4 separate regions of the Homo sapiens genome follow, and all the other regions are linked to region 1. Evidence: promoter capture Hi-C in 16 types of primary human blood cells and fetal thymus (Javierre and others, 2016). All regions are on one chromosome and are shown on one strand. Each heading gives the region's core, a stretch centred on a gene start or on the middle of the fragment in contact. The rest is flanking DNA. Distances are from core to core; before and after follow the strand shown.

What was found. Contacts are between HindIII fragments. The CHiCAGO score rates a contact against its expected background, and 5 or more counts as called.
Region 2: a contact is called between the fragment with the promoter of ARHGAP10 here and the fragment with the promoter of ZNF827 in region 1, in 1 of 17 cell types (fetal thymus). The highest score is 7.7, in fetal thymus.
Region 3: a fragment that was not itself captured here is called in contact with the fragment with the promoter of ZNF827 in region 1 in 1 of 17 cell types (fetal thymus); the score reaches 5.6 in fetal thymus.
Region 4: the fragment with the promoter of TTC29 here is called in contact with the fragment with the promoter of ZNF827 in region 1 in 2 of 17 cell types (fetal thymus and M2 macrophages); the score reaches 8.8 in fetal thymus.

Annotation. Positions count from the first base shown.
Region 1 is chr4:145,936,312-145,941,243 of GRCh38, reverse strand. It overlaps ZNF827 (zinc finger protein 827), which reads left to right and starts at 2,421. Exons shown (of 15, transcript NM_001306215.2): 1 at 2,421-2,879. The coding sequence starts at 2,837. RefSeq lists an enhancer at 3,045-3,104 and silencers at 3,479-3,548, 3,669-4,078, 4,179-4,758. The HindIII fragment of the contact is 1,765 bases long and covers 915-2,679 here.
Region 2 is chr4:147,729,032-147,733,963 of GRCh38, reverse strand. It overlaps ARHGAP10 (Rho GTPase activating protein 10), which reads right to left and starts at 1,876. Exons shown (of 23, transcript NM_024605.4): 1 at 1,509-1,876. The coding sequence starts at 1,662. RefSeq lists enhancers at 1,090-1,159, 480-1,372, 1,373-2,265 and silencers at 1,270-1,349, 1,660-2,179. The HindIII fragment of the contact is 2,455 bases long and covers 1,023-3,477 here.
Region 3 is chr4:144,656,249-144,661,180 of GRCh38, reverse strand. HHIP (hedgehog interacting protein) reads right to left here. Exons shown (of 13, transcript NM_022475.3): 3 at 2,235-2,391; 4 at 1,343-1,544. Among named protein-coding and RNA genes, the nearest start is that of HHIP, 13 kb to the right of the region's middle. The HindIII fragment of the contact is 2,432 bases long and covers 1,574-4,005 here.
Region 4 is chr4:146,943,491-146,948,422 of GRCh38, reverse strand. It overlaps TTC29 (tetratricopeptide repeat domain 29), which reads left to right and starts at 2,559. Exons shown (of 13, transcript NM_031956.4): 1 at 2,559-2,714; 2 at 3,346-3,392. It overlaps TTC29-AS1 (TTC29 antisense RNA 1), which reads right to left. Exons shown (of 7, transcript NR_188447.1): 3 at 2,869-2,992. RefSeq lists a silencer at 2,427-2,566. The HindIII fragment of the contact is 10,093 bases long and covers 1-2,841 here.

The DNA of each region.
Region 1 (4,932 bases), core at 1,172-3,671:
CCTTTAAAAGGTCGCAGGAAATGTACTCTGCTTTGAGGAAAGGCCTAAAGTGTGTTTTCAATTATAGCAAACTAAACATTAGGAAGAGTCCTAGCAATTCAGAAAAGGTAGTGGTGTGTCTATGCAGAGTCATAATCCTGAACACCCTAGCCAAAGGTTCTGAGAGAGCAGTGGTGAAGTGTGGTGACCATTTTGTTCAGCTGTAAAGATTCTACACACTCAGAGCATTGGTCTACTTGGAAAGGATGGGCTCTAATTTATCATTAATATATTAATTTCAAGTCCAATGTCACCGACAATAGTCAAAATTATGGCAAATTGAATTTGACCTGAGTGGAAAGATAGTTATATTTCAAATTATAATGCAGGGCAACCTAACTACCAGTTTTTTAAAACCAACATTTGAGGAAGAACTGGTTTAAGGATGATGCTCCTTTTTTTTTTTTTTTTTTTTTTTTGAGATGGAGTCTCGCTCTGTCGCCAGGCTGGAGTGCAGTGGCCCGATCTCGGCTCACTGCAACCTCCGCCTCCCAGGTTCAAGCGATTCTCCTGCCTCAGTCTCCCAAGTAGCTGGGACTACAGGAGTGTGCCACTACATCCAGCTAATTTTTGTATTTTTAGTAGAGACGGGATTTCACCATGTTGGCCAGGATGGTCTCGATCTCTTGACCTCGTGATCTGCCCACTTCCGCCTCCCAAAGTGCTGGGATTACAGGGTGCTCCATTTTAAACTTGACTGCTCTCTGTTTTGGTTTTAGATTGAATTCATGCAGGTGTTTCAAACCTCGCTTTCAATAGCATTACTTGTTACTGGGAAGCTAGATCTTTTGGGGGGAGTTGGCAGGGAGGGGTTGAACGTGAGATTTCTCTATCAGTGAAAGACATCTTTTGGGAGATACAGCACTCTTTAAGCTTCACTTATAAAAGTGTGCAATATAAAGCCTTATTATTATTTTTAATAAGGCAAGTCAGAATTTAACCCCCATGGCTCTCTTTAACACCACTGAAGTTGTAAGAATTAACTCAACCTCAAAGAGGCATGAGTTATCCATGTAGGCTTATAGAGTGTCATTTTAATGTTCTATGTCTTTACTGTGCCTCCACTTTCTTTGATGAAAAGGTCTATTTAAAAATTGGTAGGAAAATATTTAACATAATAAGATGATGAGTCAGAGTTTTAAAAAAGCTAAAAAGGGAAGATGTAGTTAAATAATGCACCTTTTTATTTTCTAGCTACATGACTCATGACATATAATGTATTCTGCTAAGTTCAAAGTTTCCTCTTACAAAGAGAGTTTTATGAAACAACTCTTCTTCAGACCATTTTTATTTCAATTATAGTAGCAGGTTTTGGAGTTTAAATCATTAACAACCTCTGAGTGAACTTTTATCCAAATGACTGCAAGTCACAAAGAGAACAGTCCTCTTTCACCAAGTACCTTTTGTGCTCTAGTGAGACCCGTCCTTTTCTATTTTTCTCCTTTATGTCTCTCTTTGAAGAAAGATGTGTGATTTGTAAGGTAATGAAAGTATGTATCAGTTAATGAAAACTGCTATATTGGGCTCATAATGCACACTGGAATTGCTTCAGGGTAAACTTCATATACCTGCAGTATATAGCAGGGGAAAAAGTGAATTTCCGAAGTAAAGATTGCTGTGTGCACTCTAGGAGTATCACGTAGCAGTTAAAGCAACCATCAGGGGTGACCTAATCTTATTTTCCTCTCTTTGTCAAGTAGCTGTAATGTTCATTTAGGAGCATTTTTCAGTTTTAACTCCAGTGGACACTCCAAAACTGGGCACTTATTCTGTCAACTGTCAACCAAGTTATTGATTTCACCATATGTTGTCTTCATTTTTTTTAAATTAGTTTTTTTGGAATGTTTTTGAAGAGTGTGTGGGAGACGATAACCTCCAGATTTAAGGTGATGGGGTAGGGACAAAAGCCTGCAGAATTTCATACAGAACAAAATGTAGCTTAATAAACAAAAGAAAGTGAAGAGAGAAATTTATTTCCTTTTTAAAAGTCAGTAAAATAATGAACTAATCGTTGTTTAAAGAGTGAGAAAAACTTTTTCCCCCTAGATTTGGTGACTAGCGGGATAAATTTGAAGAACTCCATCCCACCCCCGCACGCGCGCCCCCCATTCTTTCCAGACAGAGCGGTTGTAAATCCGAGGCTGAGTCCGCCCTGGGAGCCTTGGGGCACTTTCCTCTTTGCTCTGTGTGTGTGTGTGCGTGCGTGTGTGTGTGTGTAGCTCTCGCTCTTTCCCTCAGTCTGTGCCTCTTGTGTGTGTGTGTGTGTGACAGAGAGAGAGCGAGAGAGAGAGCGCGAGAGGAGAGAGAGCGAGAAAGAGAGAGAGAGAGAGCAAGAGAGCGAGCTGTGAGCTGTGCTGCCGCCGCCGCTGCCCTTTGATCCCGACATTAGTGTTAGGGGCTCGGAGACACAGAGCGCGGCCATAGACACCGCCGCACCGGCACTCATTTATTTATACCTCCCATCACACACGCGAGCATAGGACACACACACACTCACACCTATTAGATCCGTTTCCATTGAAGAATATTACGCTCGGGGACAAGCCAGGTGCACGACCAAAAATTTAAAAAAAAAAAAAAAAGGAAAAAAGAAAGGAAAGAAAAGAAGAAAACCCCTCTTCTGGCTCCAGGAAACAAGCTTCAACCCATTGCACACACCGGAGAAGGGGTTTCCCCCTGCCCGCCCGCCCGCCCCCCAACTACCTCCCCGCTCCTGCCAGTGTCTGCCTCTCTGCCCCCACGGGGGTTTATTTGATCTCACATTAACCAAGGAGGAGAATGTGAGAAAAGGGGGAAAATGCCCAGGAGGAAGCAGGAGCAGCCCAAGCGCCTTCCCTCACGTAAGTCATCCCTTCTCCACCTCCTCTCGTGCCATTTTCTCGCCCTCCCTCTCCTCTTTCCCCTCCGCAGCCTCCTCCGTTGTTTTCTGCATTAGTTTAGGGTTACAGAGGTGAAACTGACAAAGACACAGCCCGGGTTACTCCTCGTTTAGGTCTATGCTGAGGCAGCCATGTTGGTGATGATCAGCCCCGTGCCCTTTCTATTCTCTCTCTCTTTTTCTTTCTTTCTCTCACCCCCCCCCTTTTTTTCCTTGAGATCGGGCTTTTTTTTCCCTTTCCCTCCCCTTCCCCCTCCTCACTCTGGGTTGCTGGGGGGAGGGGGCAAGAGAAGGGAGGAGGGGAGTAGTGTGGATGCCGGGGGTTTTATCGGGGGTTTGGTGGGGGGAGGTGGGAGAGGTTGGAATCTTAAAAAAAAAAAAATTCCTTGTGGATTCCGGCGCCTGAGGGTGCGGGGGTCGGGGCGCGCGGAGGGCTGGGGGCCGTGACATGGCGTTTGGGGGTGTCGGGGAGAGGGCGCGCAGCAGCCGCCGGGTACAGGATCCAGGGAGAGGTCCGTCCCTGGCTAAAGGTTGCGCCGGGGTTGGTCGGCCCCCGAGCCGCCGGCGGCAGCGGCGGCGGCGGCTGGAGCAGGAGGAGGCGGAGGTGGAGGAGGCGGCGGCGGAGGAGGGGAGTCGGGGGCGGGCGAGGCGGGAGCGGCTGGGGAGGGTGTAGGGGCACCGCACACAAACACACGGGTACACACGCGCCGCCGGGCGGCTGCTCCCGCGGCGCCGAGGCGAGGGGGCGCGCCGGGGCGCGGGGCGGCCGGGCGGGGGGCGAGGCCGGGCAGCGGCGGGCGGATGTGGGGTGCGGGAGCTGCGCCGAGGCGAAGGCAGGAGGCAGGGCGGCTCGCGGCGCGCGAGGTCCCTGCAGAGCGGAGGAGAGGGAGGAGCAGGGCTCCTGGCCGCAATAAAATGCGGGGTCAGTCGGAGCAGACGGAGCCGGGCGAGACTCGGGCTCTCAGACCCCCTCCTTGGCGAGCCTGAGCAGAGTCCAGGACTAAAGTGCATCACAGCCCTCCCCGGCGGCAGCCACACACGCCAACTGGAGACACACACCCGCCGGCACGGCCCGGTCCCCTTCCCCTCCTCCACCCGCGCCCCCGGTCCCTCTCCGCCCTCCCTCCGGCTTTTCTTTGCGCGACTCTTAACTTTTCCCCCACTCCCTCTCCAGCTCCCCCCAACCCCCCAGTCTTTCTCCGCTTTGAGTGTTTCGAGATGCTGCTAAAGCTAAAAGTGAAGGAGAAAGAAGCAACTAAAAATATCCCCCGGGGCCGCCCGGCTCCTTGAATGCAGGGAAGAGGGGGCAGGGGAGAAGGCGTGGGGCGGGGTGACGGGGAGGAGGGGACGCGGGAGGCGCCGGAGGGAGGGGTCGGGGGAGACGGAGGGTCAATTTCTCTTCTCTCCCCCCACACTACTCCCCTCTCCCGGCGGTTTGGCGCTGCTCGGAGCCCGATCCTGCAAAACCCGGGCTGGGGGCGGGAGTGGAGCCGGAGCGCCCGCCCGCCCGGGTGTCAGGCCGACGTGGTCGGTCACCTGAAGTTCACGGAGGGTGGGGGAAGGGTTAAGGTTATGGTGTCTCGGGCTCGGGCTGTGTGTGAGCTTGTGCTTTTCCGCTGCAGACAGGCAGGGCGATCGATCTCCCCCTCGCGAAATAACCGCGGCGGTGCCTGCCCAGGGGACCGGGAGGGGGGCGCGGGCTGCTCGGGCCAGGCGCCCCCGCGCCTCCGTGTCACCCGGGCCGCAGCCGAAGTGGCGAGCAAGGGCACTTGCAAGCAGTCCGCTCCGCAAACATTCCTCTTTCTTTCCCCTTCCCGGTACGCAGGAGTCGACGCAAAGGGCTTGGGTTGTGCTTTTTTCCCCTTCCTTTAAAAAAAAAAAATGCCCCTGTGCAGTCCTTTCTTCGCCTGCCCGCTAGAGGTTCTGAGGATAATATCACATATGTAATATATATGCACATAAAATCACTCGCAGGCGGCTGCGTGTGTAGGGAAATTTTGTGCGAGGAAGGAGAA
Region 2 (4,932 bases), core at 627-3,126, 1.8 Mb before region 1:
GAGCCCTCAACCAAATAAGCCCACTTGTCACATGTCCCAGAGTCCCATTTCTGATTCAAGCAGCAGAGACTTAAAAACAAAACAAAAAAACCCTAAGTGAGTCCCAGTCCTGATTTTGCAACACCAAAGAGGTCAGAGAACCAAAAGGAACCTTGGAGATCATCCAGAGAAGTTGAGTGACTTGCCTCCAAAATTACAGGGATGGCTCACTAAATTCTTCCCACAGAAATGTACTTCAACTTATTCATTAAATGCATATTTACTGTACCAGGCACCATGCTGGGTGCCCGAGACAGTATAATCAATATGTTTTAATCGCCCTTACTGAAAAATGGGGCGGGGCGCGGTCGGGAGAACAGTGAGATGGGGGATTTTCCCCAGAGGTGGTATCTACAAACAAATGTACAAGGGACGAATACCTAAGGCTGAGAATTACTGAACTGAGAATCTAGGTGAGTGATGAAGGCCCTAAGAACCCAGCCCCTCAAGGCTGGATACTGCCCAAGTCCCTGTCTGCTGTATGGACAGGTCTTTTAAAGGGGGAAAGGGGACATTCACCGCCATCCTCCGAAGGGGTTATGGATCCAAGGGATGGTCAGGCTGCCCAGCTCCTCACTGGGGCTAATTCCGCCCCATTTTCCAGTAGCATCACTAACTCAGTATTTCTGCATGAATTTTGGCCCCTTCTCTCCTAGAAAGACTCTCCTCAACTACACTAAAATACAGTTATCTCTCCTGTATCTCGTGTCTTCTTCCGAGTTTAAGAGACAGAAGTTCAGGGGAGGAAGGCACCAAGCCTAACCGGGGTGGAATTCCCTATTTGCAAGCAGTGCCCGCCTAGGCTAGAGGGCAGGCTGTCCGCTCACCCTTCCAAACCCCAATCTTTGAACCCTCCTCAGCACGGCAGGGGAGGAATGTGCGGAAGCAGCATAAAGCCAGGTGGACTTTCTGGTTTGGCACGTGAAGGACCTGGAACAGGACTGTCGGGGAAGATCAGACAATGAGAGGGAAAAGGTGAAGCTTAAGGGGACTCTGGAAAACTCAACACTCCCGCAGGGTTTCAAAGAATCCCCAAGAAATTTCTTTTGAGAAGTCACAAAACAAAACTAGGCAAACAGATGCCTCGGTTTTGTAAGAGATTGTGAGTAGCTTTAGGCAGCAATGAAACCTGACTCCGGGCCAGGAGTGCCTAGGGTCGGTCCAGCGGAGCGCGCATTCAGCGAGGGGTGTTCGGCCGGGGCCAGGCGGGGCCCAGGCGGGGCCCGCTGGCAGCTGGTTCCCGCCGCCGCAGAGCCGCAGGGGCGGGAATGGGGACTCGCCGCGCTGCCTCGAGGAGGAATGATTCCAGGGACCCCCCGGGGTTCCGAGAGAGCTGGGCTGGTCCGGAATGAATTCCCCGTTCCTCTGGCTGCTGGCCCCGGACACAAGACCCTCCGTCTCCTGCCGAGAGAGGCTCCCCCAGCCGCCTCGCCACGCCGCAGCCCGTCCGCGCCCGCGTCCCCGCTTACTTTTCGTCGCAGCGATGAGGTTCTTCCCGTCCTTAATGAGCTCTTTGATGAACTTGTTGGTCCTCTCGAGTTCCGCTTCGTGAGCGCGGATCCTCTCCCGGAACCACGGGCTGTCGAGGTAGCAGTCGCTGAACTCCAGGGGCTGCAGCCCCATGACGGCAGCGGTCGCTGCGCGGTGCGCACGGCCGCGCGCTCCTGCCCGAGCCGAGCTCCGAGGCCGCTGCCAGGTGCGGCGCCGCGCGTTCAGGGAGCACAGAGGAGCTAGCAGGCCCGGGCGCGCGGCGAGCGCGGCACGGACATGTCCCGTAGAGCCGAGTCCTGCGGCGCGGAGGAGCTGCCACCGAGACCAGCGCTAGCTGCGGCGCCCCAATCCCGGCAGCCCCCGCCGAGCTCTGAGCGCCCGCGGCCCCGCCCCGCCCGGCCCCCGCGCGGCAGACACTCCCCGAGGCGCCACCCGGCCGGGCCCGCGCTCCCGCTCGTCCCCTTCTCTTTCCTCCGCCTTCCTTCTTCCTCCCTTCCCTTCCCTGGACGCCTCTTCCTTCTCTTCCCCACGCGCAGCTGCCCCTCCTCTTCCTTCCGAGGCGTCCTGGGGCTAGAATTTCGCCCCGCGGCTCCCCTCCACCCTGGGCGCTCTCCCCTCCCCTTTGCTTGGGCTCCCGGGGCCGGGGTGACTCACAGTCGGCTCCCCGCTGCACGGAACCCGACCGGGACCGAGAAGGAGCGTCTTAATTGCAGTCGTTAGTCCCCGCAGGCGGGCGACATAACTCTGAAGTGGCTGCCTTGCAGGAGATGATTAACTCATTTATCTCATTTATCCTGGGACGCCCCCAACCCCGAGCTGGGAACGAACTCGCACAGGGGGCTCTTTTCCTTATCCCGGTTCCTTTCCCAGTTTAAAGTGAGATGCGTGGTAAATCTCCGCTTGAGATCGAAGCCTTACAATGGCAAGAGCGTTTTCTTGGTGGCCCAGCAGCTCCTATTACACTTCTCTGCGTATCCGCACTAAATAACTTAGTTGAAGAGAGAGGGCTGGCTAAACCACAGAAAAGTTGTTTCTGTTGTGTTCAGCACATTAAATTTGCTGGGGTAGGTGAAGACGATCTTTATTATTCTAAAAATAACTACCGGAAAACATGCCAGGTAACGTGTGGTTTTCACCGCGTGGGGGTGACGATCAATGAGAATTTATGTCAGTGCCCTCAAAAAGCCTATTTTGTGTGTTATGAAACAACTCCAGTGTGTCCCAAAAAAAGTTAGGCATTTTAAAGTATTAAAATGTATACCTTAGGCCGGACGTGGTGGCTCACGCCTGTAATCCCAACACTTTGGGAGACGGAGGCGGGTAGATCACCTGAGGTCAGGAGTTGGAGACCAGCTGGCTAACATGGTGAAACCCCGTCTCTACTTAAAATACAAAAAGTACCCGGGTGCGGTGGCACGTGCCTGTAGTCCCAGCTGAGGCAGGAGAATCGCTTGAACCCAGGAGGCGGAGGTTGCAGTGAGTCGTGATGGTGCCACTGCACTCCAGCCTGGGCGACAGAGCGAGACAATGTCTCAAAAAAAAAAAAAAGTATTTCTTAAAAAAAAACACTAATAGTTCATTAGAGTAACGTTTCATAATCGCAATTTATTAAGCAATTATTATGTGCCGGGCACCCACTAGGAACTCCATACATCTACAAACTCGCGATATAGACTTACATGATATGATGGTAATATTAACGAGAAACTTCAAAGTAATTCCTCAAGACGTTCAGACTCTCAGCTGGGTAATTAAGAATCTGTTTGGACAGCATGTTGTAGGAGGGTAACCCTCCCGAACAAGTTAAATAAGCCTCCTACTCAATAAGCCCTTTTGTTACAAAACAGCACCAGGAGTGCCTAACCCACAGATAAACATTATTACTCTAATGTCCATCCTCCAGAGAGTTCAAAGTGTTTTACAAATAACTTTTAGGCGGTGAAAGCTTCAGTTCCTACTAAAACCAGCAGGAGACTGGAGTCTACAGAAAAGAGAATAAAAGAGGCAAATAAAGGGGAAGAAAGACAAGAAGAGAGGGGGTGTAAACAAAAATGAGGGCCTAGCGAAACAGCCAAGCACTGACCACACTCAATCCTCAGAGCAGAAACCCAAACCTTTTCTCATAGAGGGGCTGCTGAGACTTCTTCAATATTGAACATGGAGGTTACCGTGTGACCCAGCAAGTCCACGCTTAGATATATACCCAAAAGAAATGAAAATATATGTCCACGCAAATATTTACACACAAATATTCATAGCAGCATTATTCGTAATAGCCAAAAAGTAGAATCAACCAAAATGTCCTTTGTCAGCTGTGTAATGGATGCACAAAATGTTTGTCCATAAAATGAAATATTAATCTACAATAAAAAGGAATGAAGTACTGACACGTGCTACGGCACAATAACGGTGAAAACGTTATACTAAGTAAAAGAACCTAGCTGCAAAAGGCCAATACTATCTACTTATATTAAATGTCCAAAACAGGTAAATCTATAGAGGCAGAAAGATTAGTGGTTGCTAGAGACTGGGGGATAGAGTGGAGGGTATATGTAGTCAGGAGTTTATTTTCAGGGTGATGAAAATTATTAATATTTTTATTTTTCATAGAGATAGGGTCTCACTATGTTGCCCAGGCTTTTCTCAAACTCCTTAGTTCAAATGATGCTCCCACCTTGGTCTCCCAAATTGCTGGAGTTATGGGAGTGAGCCGCCGAGCCTGGCCGAAAACAATTTAAATTTACATTTTGGTAATGGTTGCACAATTCTGAATATACTCAAAATCACTTAATTGTATGTGATAAATGGGTGGATTTCTTTTGGTCTGTGAAATATATCTCAATAAAAAATTTTTTTTAAGATGAACTACTCTAGAACTGCTTCTCCTTTACCACATTAGACTTCAAGCCGTAAAAACTCTGGTTTATTCAGTGTGCCCAGTTCTTTAGATATTTGGAGAAAAAAAAAAGTTGTTTAAAACAATGTCAAAACATCATAAAAAATATTACTTATCACTTCACACACATGTACACCCAGTGTTAAAGAGCTAGTGAATATGAATCTTAATTCATTACCAAATAGGTCCACAATAATTACCATGAGTGGAGGGGCCTGATTAATTTTGTTTTATTCAGCTATGCCTATGCAGTGTCTGGTATACAAGTGATCAGTAAATGTGGAATGAATAAGTATAACTAACTGAAGAGAAATCTCTGTACAGTGGACAGTGGAAAGATAGATATTTAGTAGTTCCAGCTCCAGCTTTACTACTTAACAGTTGTGCAACCTTAGCAAAGGTAATTTTCTGTAAACCTCAGACTTACCATCAGTGAAATGGAGATGATGACATTGCAGCTGCAGGTTGCTTGAGAAGATTTAATGAAATTGTGTTTGTAAAGTGCC
Region 3 (4,932 bases), core at 1,540-4,039, 1.3 Mb after region 1:
GAAGGGTGTAAATTGAAATAGGGATGCTGAAGGAACCCTGATTTAAAAGGCAGTCAAATTGAGGTAGAAACAAGAACATCAGTTCTTGTTATAAAAAATTTTCCAGTATTCTGAGCCCTCCTTACATCTATATTACATCATACATATCTTTTTAATACCAACATTTTTACTCAAAGCACATTTGAAAACTATTGTTAATATTAATATCAGTTCTCTCAAATAATTAGTATTATTCTCAAATATCTGAAAATATTTTTAAAGCAAATTGGCAATATGTATTATGGTTATAATCTTCAACTCAGTAATGCCCTTTTTGTGAATGAATATTAAGGAAGTCATCCATGACCAGATTAAGTAAAATGTACATGAATAATAAATAACATTATTTACAATGGTAAAAAATAAAGACTGGAGTCATCTTAACTCTCACACGATAAGAAAATGAAATAGATAGCAGGAATATATCTATATTTTTCCTGACTTGTTTCTTCTGATTTGGGTCTTCTTACCACTGGAGTACAGCACAACAAAGCAAGAAAGAGTTCATTTCTATGTGAGTAGAAGACTATAAATCCTCCTTCAGGTTTTTTTTTTTCAGTTAAGAAATGAAAAGGATAACCAGTTCTTCCCAAATCATATTGTTACTTTGTTTCATTCTAAAATAGGCATGAGCTATTAAATGTGTCTTAATTTTAGAACGTCATAATTTGCTTTATGGTTTAGTACTGCTAATGTTATACTGTGTCACTCTTGTGAAACAAACTTGACAATAATTTTGTTTACATACCTAGGTTATTTAAAATGAGAATTCAAATTAGAGAAGTGAAAAAGAGGGCAATATATGTTTTATAGGTGGCTAATTATAGAAATATTTGACTTACCTGTAAAAACATTGTACAAGGAAGTTGTAGTATAAGTAGTATTTTTTATGAGACAGACTCAAAAACAGAGATGGTGAAAGAATGATTTGCAATTGCCAAAATAACCAAAAGACCTCTTTGTTTCTACTAGCAAATGCTGATGTACAGTCCTGTGTTATGCCCATTAAACAATATTTAAACAATACTTTATAAAGCCAAAGATTCCTTTAAATGTGTCAATTACATGGGGAAAGCATGTCAAATATCAATTCGATTGCAGCGCACAATAGTCAACAAATAACAGAAATTTAATGTCACTGTCCTAATTCAGGTGCCATAATTATTGTTTCTTATGTTGCCCCCTTATTTTCTCCTGCAAGATTCTTTCTTTTATTACAAAGAAATACCTTCAGTGAGGAAGGTAACACTAAAATAAAATTAACGTAGCCAGCACAAAAATAAATAAAATTTAAAAAGCCAACCTTTATTCCACTTTGAACAAGTTTGTGAATGTCCAAATAAGGCTCCTTGAAAATTTCTCCTTCAGGGGTAAGTATCTTCACATAACCTTCTTTTTCCAGAATGAAGAGACGTTGCGAGCCATCCCCACTATGCAGGGCACCAACGGGCTGCCGCAGCCCACTCACAACCTCCTGAATACAGAAGCAGTTGTGTTTGTGCTTTCTAAACAAATTAAAGAAAACCGGTAAGCTTTTCTTGAGATGAAGGAGATAAGGGATGCACTTGGCATCCTTTTCAAACTCTATTTCCTCTAGGAATCATGGTTTTGAGAACCATGAAGTGCTTGCTAACCCAAGGGTCACAATATAATTCTTTTAAGTGGTTCTTTTAAATTCTTTCAATGGCAAAAAACAAAACAGCCTTCTTTCAGAAAGTAAAATAAGAGAATCAAAACATGTATATATTTTCAAATGTCATAATCTCATTTTCTCATATTTCAGCGACTATAATTAAAATTAGTTTTACTCACAATAAATAAACCTTATGGAAGGCATGTAGAGAGAAAGTTCTAAGATCTATTTAGAAAAACCTGATTTGCTAATGGTAATTGTGCTGAACATTTTCACAGTGCCATAGACTAACAACAATCATAAAATTCAGGCTTAAAACTATACCCATAAAATTGACATGAGTCATAGAGAAGCCAAGCTCATAATATACGATTAGTAGTCTAAGTATTAAAAGCATTTAAGCTAGAATTTTAGAGAAACAAACTACCACAGAGAAAAAACTAAAGCATCTGGAGGATATAGCTGCTGAACATAAGCACAGACAGTTGATTCACTGTCAAAACCACAAGATTTGTCAGTTGGGTTTTTTTAAAAAGATTAAAGAGCATTTATCTTTATGAACCTGCTGATCTCTTCCACTTTGTCATATTCTTCCATCTGGTCCAAGTAGTTAGATGCTGGTCCTCTGACTTGTTTTCTTGGAAAATCTGGAAAGCACAACCCACCATCTTTTCTTGCATAGTAAAAGCAAAACTCATCCGCAGTTGTTTGAAGGAAACCTTTAAAAAATATAAAAAGACTCATTAGAAGCACCTAATGTCATAGTAAAACCACCTTATTTGAAAGATATAAGATGAGGAAAAGAATTTTGGGAAACTAGGTGGATATTTTAGGAAGAACCTAGACTGAAATAAAAACAGTCCTGTAATCCCACCACTTTGTGAGGCTGAGGTGGGTGGATCACCTGAGGTCAGGAGTTTGAGACCAACCTGGTCAACATGGCGAAACCCCGTCTCTACTAAAAATATAAAAATTAGCAGGGCATGGTGGCATGCGCCTATAATCCTAGCTATTCGGGAGGCTGAGGCAGGAGAATCACTTGAACCGGGAGGTGGAGGTTGGAGCGAACCAAGAACACACCACTGCACTCTAGCCTGAGCCACAGAGCGAGACACCTTCTGAAAAAATAAATAAATAAATAAATAAATAAATAAATACTAAATAAAAAGAATGAAAAATATCGGGGGTTGGGATTCCCATTTGTGTTTTAAACTAAATTTAAAAATTGTGGTAAAAGTGAAATAATATTGTGTTGAGTATTAAAAGGCTCCCATGAAGTACAAATAAGACAAACTCAGCATTTATCTTGCTATTGCATTGATGTCTTTTCAAGATTCTCTAGTTACTGTATGTTGTACCTGTGAGCATATCTCATCAGTATTTAGCATTTTTTCCTACAATACTAAATAACTTCCTCAGATGAACAAACAAGAATCAAGAAGGAGACAGGCCATCAGGTGCCAGTTTTGGTCATTTTACAAGTCTTAGTGTATTGCCACTTACATAAGATTAAATAATAAATCTAATGAATAACACAAGGTCATTATATGCTATAATAAACAACTGACTCACTGTGTAATGATCAAGCAATGAATTGGTGCTTATAACAGAGCCTCCATTTTCAAATATATAAGTGCCTTTTTCCTGCACCTCACTTATAGGAGATAATGATTAATGTGTAATAGAAAAATTATATTTAAAATATTCCTTCAATCGTCTCAAACAGAAAAGCTGACATATCAACAAGCCAAAACAAAAACACAACGGAGTTACTTAATAGGATCTAAAAGTAAGATGTGTTTTCTTTTCTTACACATTAAATATTTTATCATATAAAGACAGCTATCTTTGAATATGAAAGGAAATAACTTTATGGCAAAAAAGTTTTGATATTACTTTTACAATTTGAGTTAATAAGGTATTACCTTTCTGGGACATATTAGCAAGACTCACTTCCACATTCTAATGATTTCTGCTCTCAAAATATGACGGTATTACCAGAGTCAGTCTTATATATGGTCCTAAATTGCTGCTTCTGGTCTTATACTTTATATTATATATCTAAAGTTTTTATTTTTATATAACAAATTATATTTTCACACCTCATCAATTTTGTGATAAACATACTGAGTAGCTCAGTAGAAATTTAGAAGTTGTATAACAAATTCAGATTTAGCAAGGATTTCTAAGAACAAGAATTTGGGATCAGCCAAGTGAGACTCATCAATGGCGCATAAAAGACACTACAAGTTTACTTTCTGTGTGCTTGACCTAGGATCCCTCAAACCTAAAACTTATCTTAGAATGTGAAGGTCCCAAATGGTTGTAAAGCTTGAAGTACATTTTGACCTAACTTTTGAGTGAAATGTCTCACCCTGAACTTTCTGAGAGAGACTCTTCCCTGCCAATTTCTGACTAGGCTATTGGAAAGGATCTTGTCTTGGCAACCAGGCAAGTAAGAGCAGATGTCCTTGGGAGTGTGTGTGTATGTGTGTGTACATGCATGCGGTGGGGGGCACAGAGAAAAAGAGGCAAGCAGCTGGGAAGTGCTCCACGGGAGGGGCAAGGCAATTGGAAAGTTATTTTTCTTTGAAAAAAAATTCAAGGATTAGAAGCACTTTTCCCTCCCTTCTTAAATGGGTAAGCATTCACATGAAAACTGCCTAATAGTGTTAAACAAGTCTCTTAGAGGTAAAAAGAAAAAAAAAACTAAATTGTTAAATCAAACTCTTTGCACAGTTTTGGGCTAGATCTTGTTTTGGAAATATTTACCATCAGGCAACAAAATCTCCATGCCTATATTATGCATGCAGGAAGACTGTCATACTATGGTCATATTTATAACTGGATATGTGAGTGAGAAATATAGTTTTAAGGTGATGTTTGCCAGAAGGGTTACAGAAAAATTTCAAAATGCAATTCAAAAGAAATTTCAAGCTTGCTTAAAAAAAATGTGTGTTTCAGCATTACTGTCTACTAACCAATACCATCTTAAGGTGAAATTAATAAACAATGCTGGTGGTCAATTCCAATTTAAAGGGAATTAGTAACTGGGACAAATACGAGGAAATGAGAAGTCATTTTCAAACGGAATATCTAAAGATTAATGAATATATATTCATAAACTTGGTGGCTCCAGAGGTACAATGCCTGCTTAGCAAATTAAGAAAAAATACAGAATGTTAACAATAAATTTACTCCAAGCTTCTTATGTAATTTAGACAAACTGAATAACCTAAGTGTGAAAACCAACTCAGAAG
Region 4 (4,932 bases), core at 1,310-3,809, 1.0 Mb before region 1:
ATCGTGCATACCTGCTTTCTTAAAGTTGAGCATGGCTACTTCAGTTGTGGCCAACGAAATGTGAAAGTGATGGATACCCTTTTGGATGAAGCCTTTAAAGCTAATGTGCAGTTTACTCTCATGATCTCTCTGCTACAGACCAGCCATCCTCCAGGTGGCAAAGGTTCTCTCATATTGATTCTGCTGTGGCATAGCATGGAGCAAAACCCAAGGCTGACTTGTGATGGTGACATACGGTAATCAATCAATAAATTTTGTTGTTTTAGGCCACACAGATTTGTGGTTGTCAATTTGTGGTTGTCACTGCATATGGATCTTACTACTACATCACATACAAAGGAAGGACAATAAAATTGCCACTAGACTTCTCATCCCAAACACTGGATACTAGAAAACAGTGAAATAATACCTTCTAAATTCAGAGGGAAATGATTGTTAATCTAGAATGTGCAATCCTACCAAATGATTGTAGGCAAAATAAGGATATTGTCAGACATGAAAGAACTTAAAATTTTATCTCATATGTTCTTTCCTAAGATGTTACTTGGGGATGTGTTTAGTAAAACAAGAATGATTCAGAATAATTTTACTGTAGAAATTGATGATTGAGATATCAAAAACACTTTGAGAACAATTATGGGGAGCAGTTAAGATGGATTGGCTTCCATTAGAAAATTGTCTCTTGCTTCTTTAGGGAGCTGACCTAACCTAAAATCATTTCTCCAGAGCAAGACTGGAAGAGGAAACTTTAGAGGTTGTTATGTCAGTAATAGCATTCAAACTATCAGTTGTGTCACCTGACCTTCCCCCTAGAATTCTAGGTGGAGAAGATTGAGGAAGCAATGAGAAGAATTACACAAGGAAGAATCTGTTTGAAAAACCACTCTATTCTGTCATTCTGTTAATTCAAAAAATATTTTTGAGCACATACTGTATACTAATCCTTGCATACGGTACAAGGGAATTCAGAAAACAATAAAACAAAGTCTCTGCTTTCAAGGTACTCACAATCTTTCAGGCAAGTTTGGTTCCCATAAGCCAAACACCATGCAAAGTTATACTGATAAAATCAAGGTAGGTCTAAGAGAAAGGAGGCGAGAGGAGGAGAAATTAATTCTGTGTAGTGAAAGGAAGAGGTATTCTGGAATCCTCAAAACTTTCAGAAAGGCCTGAGTTTCTAGATAAAGTTGCAGCTGAATCTGGCATCCTTTGGTTTTCATCAGTTTCCTTTTTTGCTTAAGCCCGTTTGTGTTTTCTGTCACTTGCAAACAAAGTTCTCTAACTGAAGGAATTCTATGCTAAACAGAAGGAGAAAGAGAGTTAGTCAAAGAACTTCTAGTGAAAAAACAGCAAGTAGGAGAAGTAAGTCCAAAGAAGCAGGAAGGAACTACCTAGAAAGCCAACTAAGACAGCCTCCTGTGAGAAAGGAAGGTGCATGGAATTCACAAACAGACTCTAAGTCAGAAAAAGCAGCAAGGACTGGAAAAGAATTCACACAGGTCACAGTGGAGTGTGTTAAGGTGATGCTGAAACTGGAAAATAAACTCATGAGAATAGAATGAGAGTCTTACTGGTGTGGGGGATGGGGTGGAGCCCAATTACAGATAGTCACAGTGCTCATTGAATGTATAATGTAAACATACTTGGAAATAATTTAGTAATTTGTTACAGCAAATGAGATGTTAGAATGAAAGTGTGGTTATGGTTGATATGCTTGTACTCTAAATAGAATCGATTTATGGTTAATAGAATGATTCGTGTGAGCAATATCGCTGGCTCGTTCTCCTACAATGTGTGTCAGTAGACAAGGAACAATAGCCTAACTTTCCAGCACTTCTGTATTTTAGAAGTAACAAGTGGCAAGCCTCACTCTCTTGCCCCATATATATATGAGGGAATGAGCAAGGAATTTCACTTCCTTGCACTCATGTCTGAGAGAAGAGATGGAATGATGGGCCGAGATTAATACGATGATATTTATTTAGTGTAAATATAAAACCCTGAGTTTCAGGTAAAAATGCAAAACAAATAAGGACAGATGCAGGGAGATTCTCTGAAAGAGACCTTGAGTATTTAGCGAACCACAATTCAAAATTGAATTGTCTGTGGGGACATGACAGGAAAAGGCATTTGTGGTGGGTTCTGACTGCAAGAGAGGCTGAGGAAGAGGAGAATGAATGACTTAGCTAGATGGATAAATTGGCTTCAGGTCACGGGGATCATGAATGCCTAGCTCAGCGTTTTCCCATCAATCCTGTGGACAAAAGAGAAATGAAGAAAAAGCATTGAGAATGCAAGGCCACGAAAGAAATGAAAGTGGCAAATTCGAGCCTCTTGGGTTACGTGAAAATGCCTAAAAGCGAGCTAACTTCTGAAAGCAGCCCTGCTTGAAAAGCCTCAGCTATCTGGGGGCCCCGCCCGGCCGTCAGTAAGCTCCACCCCTCGCCAGACTCCGCCCCCAAGCCCGAAGAGTCTGGGAGCTGCCCCAATCCCGAGGCCCGGTTTAGCCTAACTCCACCCCCGGCCGTCATGCCTCGCCTCTCTGTTTCCGTGGAGACGCTCTCGGCGTCCCCTGTCTCCGCTCCGGCGGAGCCAGGCTTCGGAATCACTGAGAGAGGAGGGGGCAGCGCCAACGCCCAGCACCTGCCGCCGGTGGGGGACTGACTTCGGCGGAACGGAAAACTGGAGTTGTTTCCCTGGGCCAGTGCACCGAGGTTCGTGACGGCAGGGGCGAGGTTGGGACCGGACTTCCTCAGCTCCTTGGAGAGGCAGGCTGTTCTTCAGGCAGCCCCTTCCCTGACCCCTACAGCCAGCCCTTCCTCCATCAGTCTTTCTCAAGCTTCCTCAGTCCAGGCCCTCGCCACTTACCTCAATAAACGAATTGAAAGAGAAGTAGGGAAAGGCGCCAGTTCCTCTTGCTCCCCAGTTCACCTGACCCTCTGAGGGGAGTGAAAAACTAGGCATAGGATAAGTCCTTTAGTCCTGTTGAGAACTAGGTGGGAACAGAAAGGGAACTGAGATGCTCTCCGTTTTTGGCAAAGATAACTGTATCTCGTAAATTTGAGAGAACAAATGGTTATCCCTAATGTCACATTTGTATTGAAATACATCAATACATATACATATTTCAGATGTTTTGGCATTTCACTGATTTAGTGATTAGTTTCTCTCATAGGATCTATACTTGGGGATTTTCTTTAAAAGTTCATCTAAACTTAGATGGTAGGAAGTATTTGTTGTAAGAGTGAATCTTATTCCATGACTTGGAGCGGGGAGAGGAGTTACACTACTGAATGATTTTAAATTTTTCTTCTTTGCTATTATTCTTTGCTTCCTGATTTTCAGGCTGAAGTCTATAAGCCTGGAGAGACCATCAGCAGTAATCTGCAAATGTAAGTCACGTGAAATATGGCTTGCCTTCAAACTCATTTCCTGCTTGATTTTGTGATTTAGCCATCAATGTCAGCTGGTAGGAAATGTGTGTTTTCTATTTATTTTACTAAACAACCTATCTACCCATGAGAGAGTGCCAGAAGTGTCCAAAAATTATGATACCGAGAATAAACATTATTACTGACTCTTTATAAACTTAATTATGTTTTTTTTTTTACTTAGGGAGCATAATTAGTGATATTTCTTCTGTAGTTTTCATTAAACTTTCATAGTAAAAGAGCTTGGATAATATGAAAAGTTTTAATTCTTATGAATGATTTTTAGTAAAATCCTACTTGTTTTGAACTCGTGATGATGTATAATAAACTTGCTTACTGTGGTTTACTGGCTTTATTTCTCTAATCTCAGTTTTTACTCCAAAGTGACTGAACCCTGCAGACACTGGTCAGCCTCAGACATAGTCATTCTCCAAGTAGCCTCCATTTACATAGTAGTAGGTCTCCCTCCTTTGTGTTTCCTGATAAAGGCATCTCTGGGGATAGAGGGCAGGAGAGTTACTCTTTGAAGAATTTTACTTGGGGGCCAAAAATTTAAGCTCACACCATGGGACACATTCAGCCTGACCTAGCACTCTCAAACCTTTCATCCTGTATTTCTCCATTTTCATTTGTCTTTGCATGTGGGGGCCAAACTTAGAGATTGTAGCTGTGATACAAGAGCCAACCAGCAGATCAAAGAGTACACCAAATTTCTTCTGAATACCAACAGTGGAATGGCTTCAGGCGGCCTTTTGATCTTTGTCTCAGCACCCGATGATGCCACACTGTAGCACTGCCCACTTGCTAGCACTGGCGGAGGTTCCTGTGGGTCCTCCTAACAGGCTGATTCAGCCTGAGCTCCTGGGGCTAAGCTCATTTGGTAGCAGCCAAAGAGGTATCTTTCATTCTTCTTCTTTCTTACTCACCTGAACCTGAGCAATTTCCCTTCCTGCAGCCACACCATCTTGTGTGTTTTCCCCTGAGATGTTGATCTGGGAGAACCCTAAGGAGGTGCCATAACTAGTGGTGATATGCTCCATTTATGCTACAGGCCTGGGTCAGTCACCTCATAGCACTAGTCCCATTCTTCATTGTTGAGTCTAAATTGGAGCTCACATGGGAACTGAGAATGCTGTCTGACCAACACCAGGAAAATGATGCAACTCATATTAACAAAGACCAAAAGGCTTTCTTTACAGGTATTTAATTTAATGGAAGTACTGCAAACCCTGCTTGAACTTGTAAGGCATAAAAGATGGCAATTACTTAGATAAGAAACTAATTTGTTACAGGACCCCTTTAAATATTTGCTGCATTCAAAATATTAACTCTGTCATAAAATTCAGATCACACATTATCTGTTGTGTAAAACAAAATACCTTATGTGGCCACGTATTGATTCTGAGAAACAAAATTCACTTTCCCGATGGGCATAGGTAAGGTAGGATGTGGGGTTCAGAAACAAAGAGAAAGCCTGTTCAACTTCCATCCTGACTCTAAG